3 separate regions of the Homo sapiens genome follow, and all the other regions are linked to region 1. The links are contacts of gene promoters, found by promoter capture Hi-C in human tissues and cell types (Jung and others, 2019). All regions are on one chromosome and are shown on one strand. The core of a region is centred on a gene start or on the middle of the fragment in contact, and the rest is flanking DNA. Distances in the headings are between cores, read along the strand shown.

The links. The method cuts DNA at HindIII sites, captures the fragments that hold promoters and counts their contacts. A contact is called where the count stands out against the background at its distance.
Region 2: a contact is called between a fragment that was not itself captured here and the fragment with the promoter of EID3 in region 1, in 1 of the 25 tissues and cell types used here (hippocampus).
Region 3: a fragment that was not itself captured here is called in contact with the fragment with the promoter of EID3 in region 1 in 3 of the 25 tissues and cell types used here (IMR-90 fibroblasts, dorsolateral prefrontal cortex and mesenchymal stem cells).

Annotation. Positions count from the first base shown.
Region 1 is chr12:104,300,644-104,305,703 of GRCh38, reverse strand. EID3 (EP300 interacting inhibitor of differentiation 3) reads right to left here and starts at 1,965. Exons shown (of 1, transcript NM_001008394.3): 1 at 499-1,965. The coding sequence starts at 1,769. The coding sequence ends at 768. The region is part of intron 4 of TXNRD1 (thioredoxin reductase 1); the gene reads right to left. RefSeq lists enhancers at 1,528-1,587, 1,618-1,857, 1,165-2,037, 3,829-3,998, 4,537-4,706 and a silencer at 1,898-2,127. The HindIII fragment of the contact is 3,401 bases long and covers 583-3,983 here.
Region 2 is chr12:104,057,762-104,062,821 of GRCh38, reverse strand. It overlaps a transcript of GLT8D2 not described here. Among named protein-coding and RNA genes, the nearest start is that of HCFC2, 4.2 kb to the left of the region's middle. RefSeq lists a cis regulatory region at 172 and an enhancer at 88-257. The HindIII fragment of the contact is 3,662 bases long and covers 1-3,289 here.
Region 3 is chr12:104,126,014-104,131,073 of GRCh38, reverse strand. It overlaps NFYB (nuclear transcription factor Y subunit beta), which reads left to right. Exons shown (of 8, transcript NM_006166.4): 3 at 2,557-2,650; 4 at 4,830-4,960. Among named protein-coding and RNA genes, the nearest start is that of NFYB, 9.7 kb to the left of the region's middle. The HindIII fragment of the contact is 6,155 bases long and covers 9-5,060 here.

The DNA of each region.
Region 1 (5,060 bases), core at 716-3,215:
GGATATTAATAGATGAAGTTATTCAATTGTTGCCCAGCTTATCAAATATAATAGTTTTTCCATAAATCTAATGGTCCTCTCGTGCCTAACTTCTAACAATTCCATGCATTTGACCTTGCTATTCTCTTGCCTAGAATGCCTTTTCCTTCTTCGTGTTTCTACTCACCTTTCACCCTTAGCTGATACCTCAACTACTACAGCAGAGACACTACTTTTGCTGAGTACAATAACAGAAATTGTTTAGAATATGGATACTCACTCATAAATCCTAAGTCTTCCTTGCAATGACTTTTTTAGTCTTAATGTTGCATATTCACTGCCTTACAGACAGGTTTTTTTTTTTAACTTTTGTTTTTTACCCACTCTTTGCCCAACCTGGTTAGGAACCCTTTCTGGGATTCTCTTGGTTCCCTATGACAGAGAAAGCAACGCATCACAGAGCATCATCACTGATTTTCGTAAATTATTATGTTTTGCAAATTATCAAATATCCCTTAATTTGGTATCCAAAACTTGTTTTTATTAATAGTCTTAAAGGGCATTCAATAAAACGTTCCCATAAATATGCCAGTGAATTTGTTTTAATAACAGAAGATCATGACCTTATAAATTACTAAGAAAAATATGCTGCACAGTAAAACAATGTCTGATGTTCTTGAAAATACTTTTTCACTTTACAAGAGATACAATATGTGCTTCAGTTTACATTTTACTCTCCATCTAACTTCAGAAAAAAAACACAAAAAGGATGCTATACTAAGAAATCTTTAGTATGAGGAGTATGTAATCATAGCCTCAGAAATTTCAAAAGCTGCCACAATGTTTTTCCACTCCTGTAAAGTCAAAGATATAACTCCCTGTTTCCTGCCATGGCAACTGGAATCATTTCCCTCACCCATTTGGTTAACATTCATCGGCTCTAATATTGGCAGCCTGTCTTCATCAAGCCTTATTCTTGCAAAACCATCTCTTACAATAAAAGAAACATAAAATATATTCTCCACAGTACGAGAAAAAGAGTTTGGATCAATCACAAACTCAAAATAGGACACAGGAGTATCAGGATACTTTCGAAAGTAGGTTTGCAACAATCCCAAAATCCTTTCTACGTTTTTTTCTGTCGCTTCTGGATAACTACTCAGGTCCAACTTCTGCAACTTTGTAGGCATGTTGCCATTTTCTTCCATCTTGCGAACTTTTTTCTGGTGTTCAAGTCGGGGCTTTGGTGCAGAACGTTCTAGCTTGAATGAACCAAAAACAAAATGGAATGTCTCAGCTTTTACCATCCAGGATGTTGCTTCCTTTTCTATTGCCTTCCAGAAGGAAAGAGCTATGCTATCATCACAATCACTCAACTTGTCAGGATCGCCTTCCATCCAATTCAGACCCACGAACAGAAACAGAAAGTCACAAAATGCTAACTGATTAAAGAAGTTCATATCTGAGTTTAACTGCTTTGCCTTTTCTTTACCCAAATCAGAAGCCATAACAAGAAACCGGGCGTCGAGGGCTGCTTCTCTGGTTCGGCTCACGCCATCAAAGAGGACGTTGGCTTCCTCCAGAGCCTCGGTTAAGGAGTTGTTCGCCGAGCTCACGATGTCCTCCCGGTTCTGCCGCACGCAGTACATGAGCTGCCGGTACTGCCTGCGGATGCTGCGGCACTTCTCCTCGTCAGCGGTGAGCTCCAGGAGCTTTGGGTCTACGTCGGCCTCCCCAGAGCTGAGGTCGTCGGAGCAGCCCGCGGCCCTCACTGACACATCCATCTTCATCAGCGCTCCCTCCGCCGCCGCCTACTTCGCCGCGTACTCGCTACCGGGGATGATCACGAGCTGCTCCTCTCCTTTCTCTTCGTCTCCCTTCCGGGAAGCTTTTTCAACCAACATGCCGGCCACGGGTATCTCTGAGGTAACGGCCCTCCCAGCGTGTGGAAAGTGGCGGCAGTTAGAGCCGAGGACGCCCGCCCATGCGCACTAGCGGCCCGGCCCGGCGCGACCCGCCCCCAGCACGCTCCGCGGGAAGACAGCCCCGCCCCGGCCCGGCCCAGCCACAAGCCGAGGCGCTCGCTCATAGACCAGCGCGGCGCTCCCAACACGCGCAATGATGGGCCCTGACCTCACACGCGACTAATGCCCGCTCAGGGGACAGCTATTCTTTTTCAAAGCGTTTACCGACTGGATCACCTCACTTTAAAAAAAAACACTTTTGGACAACTTTACACAAAACTATTGAGGAGACTAAAGGTCCTGCGCTTTAAAACGCTCGCTGCCATCATATACTGCAGTGAGGTCGACCTGGTTTTGGTTTTTTGTGAACTAAATCTGGCTGGACTGTAAACCGTCGGTAAGGCCAAGGACCGTGAAAAGCAGAAACTCCATTAAGCAGGCTAAACTCTCAGTTCTTTTGCAAGGTGGTGTTTGGACTCATTATACAAATGTAAATCGGGTTAATTACTTTCACATGTCCTCTTAAAAACCAAGCCCCCTCCAATACCCATCCTGAGTATCTGTGGGATCGGGGGAGCCTCCAATATCCGTGCTAACCCCTGCAGGAAACTGGGTGCTGGGCACGGGCATTACTCAGGTGAACTTTGGTTCTCCACTACCCAGGAGTGGAAGAATAGAATGGGTAGAGATCTCTGCAAAAGAGCTATTTACTTGGAAGCTTGCCAACAGCTAAAGGCCACCGACACTGAATGGGTAGTAACTCTGAACCCTAAAAGGTGGGCAAAGCTATGAAAATTTCAGATACAGTCTAAGGATATGAAAGCTTAATCTGTAAACTGGGTGAGTAATCTGCGTGGGAAAATTTACCCATTGGATTTAATGGGGTCACTGGAAACTCAAGTGCAGTTAAAGACGTGACTCCTTATCTGTCTCACCAGCAGCAAATAGCAAAGTATACATAACAATGGGAATGGCCGGGCGCGGTGGCTCACGCCTGCAATCCCAGCACTTTGGGAGGCCGAGGCGGGCGGATCACGAGGTCAGGAGATCGAGACCATCTTGGCTAACCCGGTGAAACCCCGTCTCTACTAAAACTACAAAAAATTAGCCGGGCGCGGTGGCAGGCGCCTATAGTCCCAGCTACTCGGTAGGCTGAGGCAGAAGAATGGCGTGAACCCAGGAGGCGGAGTTTGCAGTGAGCCGAGATCGGGCCACTGCACTCCAGCCTGGGCTATAGAGCGAGACTCCGTCTCAAAAAAAAAAAAAAAAAAAAAGGGAATGAATACATCTGGTTTTTAAAGAGAACATGCACACAAACAACCCATGAGCATCAACAGCTTTTCAAACCTGCAACAGGTACACCTTAAAAAAAAAAAGACACCCACAATTGCACCTGTCCAATTGCCAGTTTCATAGCACCAGGAAGTAAATTAGCCCTACCTTCCTTTATGCATATAGACTTGTTCTATTTCTTTAGCATTAGCAGAAAGTTTTTTGTAAATGTATAAACAGCAAAATCTAGTAGTATTAAGTTACTCCAAAATCCTTATATTACCATTTGCTCCCAATTATTTTATTAACTAGGGGTAATTCAGGGAGATACGTGCATTTTTCAAAACACCATGCATTACGGTTAGTTGTACATATATATGATCCTACCCTATTAGATTGTTGGCTTCTCAAAAACAAAAGCTGCGTTTTAGATCTTCCAAACATAGCTGTTTTTACACGGAGATGCACTTATGTACTGAATGTATAACTTAAAATAGATTTAAAACTATCCCAGCATCTACTGCAAGTTATTTGGCAGCAAAGATTTAAGTTCACAGATTCGTGGAATTAATCCTACACACTGAAAGGAAAAGTTGACTGCTCTTCAGAAAAAGTTCTTATCCCTCTTCTAAAATAAAGGAAAAATGAAAGAAAGGTAAGTTGAGACCCAGGATCATTCAAGGATCGTATCTGTCCCTAGTCTGGCCAATTACAAACTAGTATTTGAACTTGTTTTAAATCTTAGGTGAAAATACAGTTAAGAATTCCAAGACCCAAATCCAAAAAAGTCTGCTTTTACAGTGAACGATATTCTTAGGAGCTTCTCACATCCACTTTAAATTCAACAAAAGCAGCCGGGCACGGTGGCTCACGCCTGTAATCCCAGCACTTTGGGAGGCTGAGGCGGGCGGATCACGAGGTCAGGAGATCAAGACCGTCCTGGCTAACACGGTGAAACCCCGTCTCTACTAAAAATACAAAAAATTAGCCGGGCGTGGTTGCAGGCGCCTGTAGTCCCAGCTACTCTGGAGGCTGAGGCAGGAGACTAGCCTGAACCCAGGAGACGGAGCTTGCAGTGAGCCAAGATCGCGCCACTGCACTCCAGCCTGGGCGACAGAGCGAGACTCCATCTCAAAAAAAAAATTCAACAAAAGCTACTTACAAAAGAACTCTAACAGATAAGCCAACCCTTCCCACCCTATGGTGCCTATTTTCTTCTGGCTCAGAGGAAGGAAAATAGGCTGACACCAATTTGCTACATAAAGACCCTTTCATCTAAGAATTTCAAAATGCCTTAGAAAACTATATTCTCCCAACCTGCTTATAAAGTATTACTAATACCATTTACAGGGATTTCTCAGGAGATAACAGCCCACACAACTTGCTCAGAGCAACAGAGCATATCGAGGCAAACATTAAGTTGTGATTTACAGTGCTGAATGCATTCTATGCTAGATCTCCAAGAACTTTATTAACATGTAACTTAGATCATCCTAAGAAAGGCAGACTTGCATTATGTTCCACCTTTAAAAATCTGCCTTTAGGCCAGGTGCGGTGGCTGACACCTGTAATCCCAGCACTTTGGGAGGCCGAGGTGGGTGGCTCACCTGAGGTCAGGAGTTTGAGACCAGCCTGATCAATATGGAGAAACCACGTCTCTACTAAAAATAGAAAATTAGCTGGGCGTGGTGGCACATGCCTGTAATCCCTGCTACTTCAACCTGGGAGGCAGAGGTTGCGGGTGAGACAAGATTGCACCATTGCACTCCAGCCTGGGCAACAAGAGCGAAACCCCGCCTCAAAAACAAAACAAAACAAAACAAATCTGCCTTTAGACATTGCTAC
Region 2 (5,060 bases), core at 209-2,708, 240 kb after region 1:
TAAATATCCACAATACAAGTTATTTTTTAAAATTTTAATTGAAAAAGGACTGGGCATGGTGACTCACACCTGTAATCCCAGCACTTTTGGAGGCTGAGACAGAAGGATCCACTGATCCCAGGAGTTTGAGACCAGCTCGGTCAAGATGGTGAGATCCCATCTCTATTTTTATTAAAGAGAGATAAATAAGAGATACAAGTCCAGTGGAAGAAAAAATTGAAAGCAATTTAAATCCCTACCTCAGATTCTCAAGAGGTACTCAAAGGAGAACACAGACACTGTATAGTAAATTTCCTAAAACTCTTTTTTCCTCTTATTTTACCATTTTCAATTTCTCTTATATGCCTCATTCACCCAACTCCCTTAAACCTCAGCATGCTTCTCCACCTTCTCATCTATCTAAGCTTTTTTTGAGAGATAACTCTCTATGTTTTAAAAAGGAATTCTCAGGACGGGTGCGGTGGCTCACACCTGTAATCCCAGCACTTTGAGAGGCCGAGGAGGGCAGATTACCTGAGGTCAGGAGTTCGAGACCAGCCTGGCCAACATGGTGAAACCCATCTCTACCAAAAATACAAAAATTAGCCGGGCGTGGTGGTGCATGCCTGTAATCCCAGCTACTTGGGAGGCTGAGGTAGGAGAATCACTTGAACCTGGGAGGCAGAGGTTGCAGTGAGCCAAGATGGTGCCATTGCACTCCAGCCTGGGCAACAAGAACAAAACTCAGTCTAAAAAACAAACAAACAAACAAAAACCCCAAAAGGAATTCTCACTATTTTTTTTAGCTTCTGCTTCTTAAATTCTCCCTCTCACTGAGTATTAACCCATTTTTTTTTTTTTTTTTGAGATGGAGTTTTGCTCTTGTTGCCCAGGCTGGGGTGTAATGGCGCCGATATTGGCTCACTGCAACCTCCACCTCCTAGGTTCAAGCAATTCTCCTGCCTCAGCCTCCTGAGTAGCTGGGATTACAGGCATGCACCACCACGCCTGGCTAATTCTGTATTTTTAGTAGGGATGAGGTTTCTCCATGTTGGTCAGGCTAGTCTTGAACTCCCAACCTCAGGTGATCTGCCCACCTTGGTCTCCTAAGGTTCTGGGGTTACAGGCATGAACCACTGCGCCTGGCCAGCCCAATTTCATAATATGTCCAAAGAGAATTTGGAAAGGGAGGGAGAAATAAGATGTCTGCGAACAGAAAAGAGGTTATGAATATTTATCTATTAATATTTTTCTATGTCACATACATAACATAGGAGGCTCTTAAATGTTGCCATAATAAAGTTTTTATGGATTTGAAATAAAACTGGAAGAGTTGGAATAAAGCAGTGAGTTTTTCATAAAACCCAAAGTGTTTAATTTAAAGAACTGTACTTTGTTCTGAGAGTTTTGTGCCTAGATGGTAGTTTTTTTCTAATGCCCTTATAGCACAAGGTTAAAGGAAAAAATCAAACGTTCCAACCCTAATGTTGAACTTCAAATTTAAAAAAACTAGTCTATGATATTTGAAAGCCCAAGTACCCTTGAACTAGGAGAAAAATTAAGGCAAAATATTTTTAAGACAAAAGAGATTGCAAGCTATAACTGGTGGCTTAGATAGGGAGCTGCAGGGTGATGAGGAAATGTGTACTAGTTTCCTAGGGCTGCTGTGAAACAATAGGAATGTTTTGTTTCACAGTTCTGAAGGATATATAAGTCTGAAATCAAAGTGTCAGTAGGGCTGTGATCCCTGCAAAACCTGTAGGAAAGAATGCTTCCATGCCTCTTTCTAGCTTCTGGTGGCAGCTGTCAATCCATGGCAGCCCTTGACTTGTCAATGAATCACTCCAGTCTCTGACTCCATCACATCATCACGTGGTGTTCTCCCTGTGTGTCTGTCTCTTCTTTTTTTTTTTTCTTTTTGAGACAAGGTCTGGCTCTGTCATCCAGGTTGGAGTGCAATGGTGCGATCTCAGCTTGCTGCAGCCTCCACCTCCCAGGCTTAAGTGATCCTCCCACCTCAGCTTTTGGAGTAGCTGAGATTATAGGTGTGCACTACCATGCCTGGCTAGTTTTTAAATTTTTTCTAGAGATGAGGTTTTACCATGTTTCCCATGCTGGTCTTGAACTCCTGAGCTCAAGCAATCCTCCTGCATCAGCCTCCCAAAGTGCTGGGATTACAGATGTGAGCCACTGCGCCCAGCCTCTTCTCCTCTTATTATAAATTCACTAGTTATATTGGATTAGGGCTCATCCTGTGATCTCATCTTAACTTGATTATATCAGCAAGGATCCCATATCCAAATAAAGTCATATTCATAGGTACAGCGGGTTAAGGCTTCAGCATGTCTTTTGGGGGAGATACAATTCAATCTATGACAAAGTACATAATCCAATGGGAAAGATGTTTTAGTAGAGCAGTTTTGAGTAATCTGTCCTTGAGGGAGGCATCTAAAATAGGTCCCCATTTCACAGTAAAGTACCTTCAATCTCTGAAACTTCAAGAATGTAGTTTGGAAACAACAACCTAGGAGGAGAGTTTGGAGAAGAGGGATGGAAAATAGCACCCTGAAGAAGCCAGCATTGATGGGGTAAAGACAAGAGGAGGCACTCATGAAGGAAATAGAGAATAGGTAGCCAGAGAAGTTAAAAGGGAACTGGGTGAGGGTGATGTCAAAGAAGCCACAGGCAAAGAGGGTTTCATAGAGGCAGAAGTGGTAAGGAAAGCCAAAAGCCACAGAGAGGTCAGGGAAGAAGAGGACGAAGAAGCAACTGTTGGATTTGCAAATTAGGAGGTTAGTAGTGGCCTAGAATTAAAATGTTTTCAATGGAGTGGGAGGGAAAGAAGCCAGAGAGAACTGAAGCATGAGTTAGAAAATGCGGATAACATGTGTAGTCTATTCTTTACAGAGACTTGGCCATGTAAGGAAAGAAAGAACAATGGCTGGCAAGGAGAGAGAGGTACTGTGTAAATTGTTATTATTTTGGATGGTGAGACTTGTGGGCCCAGAAGAAGGATCCAGTTGCAAACAAAAGGTCGGAAGAGCACAACCAGCAATCATTTCCAACCTTCTCCTTGCCTGCCTCTCATTATTGAGGCTGGGAAGGAAAAAAACAAACAAACAAAATACAAACAAATAAGAACTTTCCCAGACTACTGTACCCACTCTCCTTCAAGATCTGCTCTCCTTTTCTTTTCAGTAACAGAATCTGGACTCTGAGCTGGGCACATGACCATTCTAAATAAAAACTAATTTCCCAAGCTTCCCTCAACTTGTTGTGGCCTGTGGCTAAATATTGACCTATGGGTTGTAAGCAAAAGTAATATATATAATTCCAGAATGTGTTCTAGAGGAGGGAAGCTTCCTTTCTCTTACTCTTTCCTGCTGTCTGGAATGTAGATGTAATGGCTAGAACTGGAGCAGCCATCTTGGACCATGAGCTGGAAGAAGCCTAATTTCCTGAGTACTTAGTGAAGTAGAGCAGCTCCACTGGAAATTACATCCCATAGGGCAAGTAGATCTGTTCAGAAAGAGCTGGGATTTGGTGGATCAAAGTCCTGGAGGATCAAGAAAAGATGGATCCTGAAGTCCATGTATACCTACATGTATACCAGGGTTGAATAGATACATTAATTCTCTATTATAGATTATATAAATATTATGTATTCTATACATGTACAGGAATCCCTCTTTAGCCATGGTTTCACTTACCCACAGTCAATGCAGTCTGAGAATATTAAATGGAAAATTCCAGAAATAAGCAATTTGTAAGTTTTAAATTGTGTAACATCCTGAGTCACATGATGAAGTCTTGCGCTGTCCCGCTCTTACCTGCCTGGGATGTGAATCATCCTTTGTCCAGTGTTTCCACACTGTATGTGCCACCTGCCCATTCGTAATTGAGTAGCTGTCTTAGTTAGAGGTATATAGGATTTGGTGCTATCCGTGGTTTTAGGCATCTCTGGGGGTCTTTGAATGTATCCCCCTTGGGTAAGGGAGCATCTGTTGTGTTATAGAAAGCTCTATTGGACAGTGCTGCTCTAGACTTTTTAGGCATATGTTAGAGAAGGTACTTTCATCTCTCACTACTTCCTCTCCTCTCTGCCCACTCCTCCGTATCAAACACCCACCAGAGTCATTTACCTGGACTGTTTCATTTGGGGTTAAGATCAAGGGCTTTAAGACCCAATAGGTTGTAGCTACTTAACTAGTTGTATGGCCTTGGTCAAATTATTTATCCTCTTTGAACCTCAGATTCTTTGTCTATAAAATGGGAATAATAAGAGCATCTGCTTCTTAGGGTTAGTCAAAGGATTAAATGAGATAATATGGTTCCAAAGTGGCAGCAAGGAAGCAATCTGGCTTCACACCCCCCAATGGAAAACCCAAAACTAATATTCAACACTGAAATTATCACCAGCAATATCCGAGAACTCAAATATGAGGATGAGACATTTGCTGGGGCCACAGAGAAGTTTAAAAAACTCTGAGCAGATGGTAAGAGAATCAGACTTCCATATCTGTAATCCCCTCCCCACAATCTGCCAGGCACCAACTGCATGAAAATTTCCCCCAACTCACAGTCTGTACACTGTAAAAAGTGAGATCAAGGCATAGACAACCAGCTTCTCCACAATCTTGGGTTCCCTTGCAGGAGACTTGTCCCAGCCTCAACCACTAGAAGCATCAGCAGTCCCTAGAGGAGAAATATCCCTGAGAACAGCCAGAGACAAAGGGGAGAGGTGAGACTACCATCCCAGCTCTGGAAACTCTGCTGTGTAACTTGACAAAAAGAGATGGAGACACCAAATCATAGTGGCTGTTCAGCAGCACCACACTGTAGGAGGTTGGGTCCATAGGTCCCTTGGACACTGAACCCCTAGCTAGCCTTCCCAAACTACTGGGATATCCCCCATTAAGGATGAGGGGCACTGATTATTTATTAGAATGGAGGCAAACGTGGGTTTCAGCACCATCTAGTGCTGAAAATGGGGCAGTGACCTAGCAAGGGGGGAAAAAAAGAAAGAAAGAAATAGGTAAATGAAATAATACATGTAAAGTACAGGCAGTCTTCACTTTGCA
Region 3 (5,060 bases), core at 1,837-4,336, 180 kb after region 1:
TATATTTCTAAATTAATTCATCTCCCAGATCCGCCTGGTTATTTGAACAGTGTCTTGCTCATAGCCAATTTTAAAAGACTTAATGGTATCATGTAAACACTCATTCAGGAAAGAATTTCTGTTATTCTTCCCAACCCACCGCCTGCCCTCCCCACCCCCAACCAAAGTTTGTTTCCAATTGTAGGCTCTGAAACAACCACTTTGGTCCTGTCTCCTGCACCTTGATCTTCCTTAGGTTATTGTAAAAGCTAGTCAACTCACAGGTATCATAATTGATCATTCTTTTATGGCTGTAAAAAAAAATCCATCATGTCTATTAAAGGATACTCTCCTAGTATGTTAGCATTTTAAGATCAAAATAGCATTTGATTTTTGGGCACTGTTTCACATTTATTTGTGTTAGTTTAAGATGGGGAGGGTGGTATTGTTATTTACATTTTATATGGAAATACATTTAATTGGCAGGGATGCTTATTTTCAGGGGATCAGTAGGAGAGTCAGAATCAGGTCACTGACTTTGTTGTTTACTTCTTAGAGGCTACTAAAAGTATCAAATAGGTACCCTATGTTCACAGATTATTAAAGGTCTGTAAATTCTATTTTCTACCCCCTTACAACAACTATATAAATTATAGAAATGTGTCTCTATCTACAGTTATATTAGGCATCACAGTCAACAGATGCATGAAAGAAATGCCGTGTTATTGAAGACCTGGAAACTAGCCCAGTATTTTAATATTAAATAAAAATTCAACAGAGATGGAGAAGACATGTGTTATACAAGGACTAAAATTTTGCAATTAATAACATTAAGTTTATACTGGGTCCTGGGCCTTAATGAAGGGTCAAATTTCTTTGTTCAGCCTGAAAGTATGTATGAATTACACTTGATTTTTGCTATACTTTTTATTCAGATAATGCATTTAACATTTTTTCACTCACAGATATCTTATTTTGAGTAGTAGTATTTGCAAAACAGAAAGCCTTCTAGGATCTGCCATGTTGGTGAAATTGAATGGAGCCAGCTCAGGGCTTATGATTTACTTTTTTCCAGACTTTCCCTCTTGGAATTCTTTTAGCTCTCAGCAAAATTAATTAAGCAGGCTTTTTTTAAAATAGGAATTTTAACTCTTATTCTTGTCTGTGCAGGTAATTTTCCTATCTTTATACATAGATCTTCCTGACCCCTCCTCCTGACCCCACTCTGTCACTGAGGCTGGAGTGCAGTGGTGTGATCACAGCTCACTGCAGCCTCAACCTCCTAGGCTCAAGTGATCTTCCCACCTCAGCCTCTCAAGTAGTTAGGACTACAGGCACATGCCACAACGCCTGGCTAATTTCTTAATTTTTGTTTTTTTTTAGAGACAGGGTCTCACTGTGTTGCCCAGGCTGATCTTGAACTTCTGGGCCCAAGTGATCCTCCCACCTTGGCTTCCCAAAGTTCTGGGATTACAGGCATGAGCCACACCTGGCCCTGATTTGGCAGGGGGAGAGAAAATTAACCTTTGACTAGAATCAGGAGTTTATGGGTTCATTCAAAACATGGGTGTACTTTTGGCTTGCCTGGGTACAGAATTGTGCAGAGAATCCGCATGCTTCTTATACCAAGTAACAGTTTGAACGGAGACATTGTCTATTTTGGAACTTCTATGAGAAAGCAAAGAAAGTTCGCAAGCAGGAGCAAAAGGAAAATCAGGGTTTAGCAGGAGAGCTGGAAGTGATGGATACAGGTGAATTCCAGTTGATGACTTAAGCTGATTTTTTTTTTTAAGAGACAGGTTCTCACTACATTGACCAGGCTGGTCTGGAACTCTTGAGCTCAAGCAGTCCTCCTGCTTCAGCTTCTGAGCAGTTGGGGCTACAGGTACATGACACTGTGTACAGCTTTACTAAGCTGATCATCATTCCAGGGATAAATTAGGTTGTAAGTCAGGGTTGCCTGTGGTACTATATTTGAAGATTATGCACTTAAAAAGAAAGAGGCATATGCTTTAGATTCATTTCCTTGTCGCTATTGGCCTTATGCTTATATCACTTATGGAAGATGGATAGGGAAATCTTGAATCGTGGACAAATTGTGGGAAAGTTTCCAAATCAAGAAATATAGGCTGGTTGCGGTGGCTGATGCCTGTAATCTCAGCATTTTGGGAGGCTGAGGTAGGTGGTTTGTTTGAGCCCAGGAGTTCCAGACCAGCCTGGGCAACATAGCAAAACCCTGTCTCTGCTAAAAATACAAAAAAATTGGCCAGGCATGGTGGTGCATGCCTGTAGTCCAGCTACTCAGGAGGCTGAGGTGGGAGGATTGCTTCAGCCTGGGAGGTGGATTCTGCAGTGAGCTGTGATCACGCCACTGCACTCCAGCCTGGGCCACAGAGTAAGACCCTGTCTCAAAAAAATAATTAATTTTTTAAAAAAGAAATATAAATTCTCTTTTAGTAAGCTTAAGGCTATGAAAAGTATAATTGATGCATCATCCTGTGACAGTTTATAAGTGTTGAATCTGTTACGTTTGTTAGTACTTTGAAAAGTATTGAAAAACTGTTTTTCTCCTCATAGATGGATGGTGACAGTTCTACAACAGATGCTTCTCAACTAGGAATCTCTGCAGACTATATTGGAGGAAGTCATTATGTTATACAGCCTCATGATGGTAAGCAAGCCACAATTAGAACCAAATTCTCAAGTTGAAGCAAGTTAGAAAGTGGACATTTCATTAATATGGTGTTCTAGGCTACTTGTGTCTTTATAGGAAAATTTACAATCTTGTGTTACGGTTCAATGAGAAAGTCTAAAAAGGCGTACCATGCTATTTTTATTAGAAATAGTCTTCAAAAGAATGAGTCCTTGAAAAGACTTTTACTATAAAAATACACCTTGTCTAAAATCTGTACAGTTTCTTTTAAAATTTGTTATCGACTTCCTGTTTAAATGTTAAATAAGAAATTTATAATCAATTGATAGGGTAACTAAAATAATTATTTAGAGGGTGAGTTAAATTTCTAGCTATTATATTTCTTGCACTTATGATTTATTTTTGGTTTTCATTCAATATTAACTTTGAACTATGTCAGGTATTAGAATGGTAGTGTTGGCTCAGTGTGGTGCTCACACCTATAATCCCAGCAGTTTGGGAGGGCAAGGTGGGCAGATCACTTGAGCTCAGGAGTTCGAGACCAGCCTGGGCAACATGGTGAAACCCCACCTCTACAAAAAAATTAAAAAATTAGCTGTGCTTGGTGGCATGTACCTGTAGTCCCAGCTACTTAGGGGGCTGGGGGCTGAGGTGGGAGGATTGCTTGAATCTGGGAGGTAGAGGCTTCAGTGAGCCATGTTTGCACCACTGCACACTCCAGCCTGGGTGACAAAGTGCAAAGTGAGACCCTGTCTCCAAAAAAAAAAAAAAAAAAAAAGGCAGTGTTATGTTGGCCTATCAGAAATAATTTACTTTTGTGGCATTTTGGTTTGTAAAAAAAATTTTTTTTTTTTTTTTATTTTTTATTTTTTTTGAGATGGAGTCTTGCTCTGTCGCCCAGGCTGGAGTGCAGTGGCACAATCTTGGCTCACTGCAACCTCCGCCTCCTGGGTTCAAGCAATTCTCCTGCCTCAGCCTGCCCGTTAGCTGAGATCACAGGCGCCCAGCACCATGCCCAGCTAATTTTTTTTTAGTAGAGACAGGGTTTCGCTGTGTTGGTCAGGCTGGTCTCAAACTCGTGACCTCAGATGATCTGCCTGCTTCAGCCTCCCAAAGTGCTGGGATTATAGTCATGAGCCACCACGCCTGGCCTGATTTGTAAAATTTTTAAAAATTGAGATATATTTTTAGAAGAAACTTGCCAGAGGGATTAATTTCATCCTGAAACGGATATTCAAATAAATTAATTCTGATAACATCATTTTAAACACATAAAAACGTAAATTGAATCAACTTAAGTGCCTTGCCTCCTTACTTAGTACATATGAAGAGTGGGCAGTTTACTTACAGGATACTGCATTTAGTCATAAAAGGATGTTATTGGTACTGCGCAAGCTTCAGTTATAGCTAAATTTATATAATTTGAAAAGTCCCTTTTTGTATGAACAGTTGGATCACTGCTCTAGCTTTGTTCAAAAACTAGTTACATTAGTAAGCCAACTGGATCAGTAATAATCAAGTCCAGTTTTTCCATTCTTTAAAGAATTTTATATAAACTTTATACAGACAAGACAACTTTATATCAACTTTAAAAGTTTTATATAGACTTTTACATAAATGAGTTTATATAAACTTGGGTTTGGAGAAACATACAACCTCTTAATCTAGCAGTATTGAAGGAGCCATAGGTTACGGTCTGTAAGTTTTATAGCTAAGTCGTATAATAAATATTTATGAGTACCTACTCTGTGGAAGGTGCTGTACCAAGCTGTAGGAAACACAAAGCTGATTCGTGACATTAAGTAGCAAAAATCTAATAGGAGAAATGAGGAATAATAAAAATTCTAAAAATGTGTAAGAGAAAAGGCATAGAGAAGCACTTACATTTTATGAAAGAAAAGATCATTTTTGAAGGTGGTATGGAGATGTTATTTGAGATTTTTGGAGAATGGGCAAGTAGGATTTTAGCAGGTATATTTGAGGATAAAAAGTGTTCTAGGCAGTGAGTCTGAAATTAATAAAAAAAAAGTTCAGTTCTGGCTCTGTAAAAATTATGAAGAGACTTGCTATCCTAATCCCTAAATAATGGTTAAGAGGTGAACCAGAATGATTTTATTCTGGATCACTTTGGTAGTTTTTTCTATCTTGAAATAGAAATAATAAGAAGCTTTACACCTAAATATTTTTATTTCTTTAGATACTGAGGACAGCATGAATGATCATGAAGACACAAATGGTTCAAAAGAAAGTTTCAGAGAACAAGATATATATCTTCCAATAGCAAACGTGGCTAGGATAATGAAAAATGCCATACCTCAAACGGGAAAGGTAACGTAGAGGAGAAATTTAACTAGGTTTTTTCAAGGGAAACACGAAACTACATGAATTCATAGGTCATGGGTACAGTTAGCTGTTGATTTCAATCATT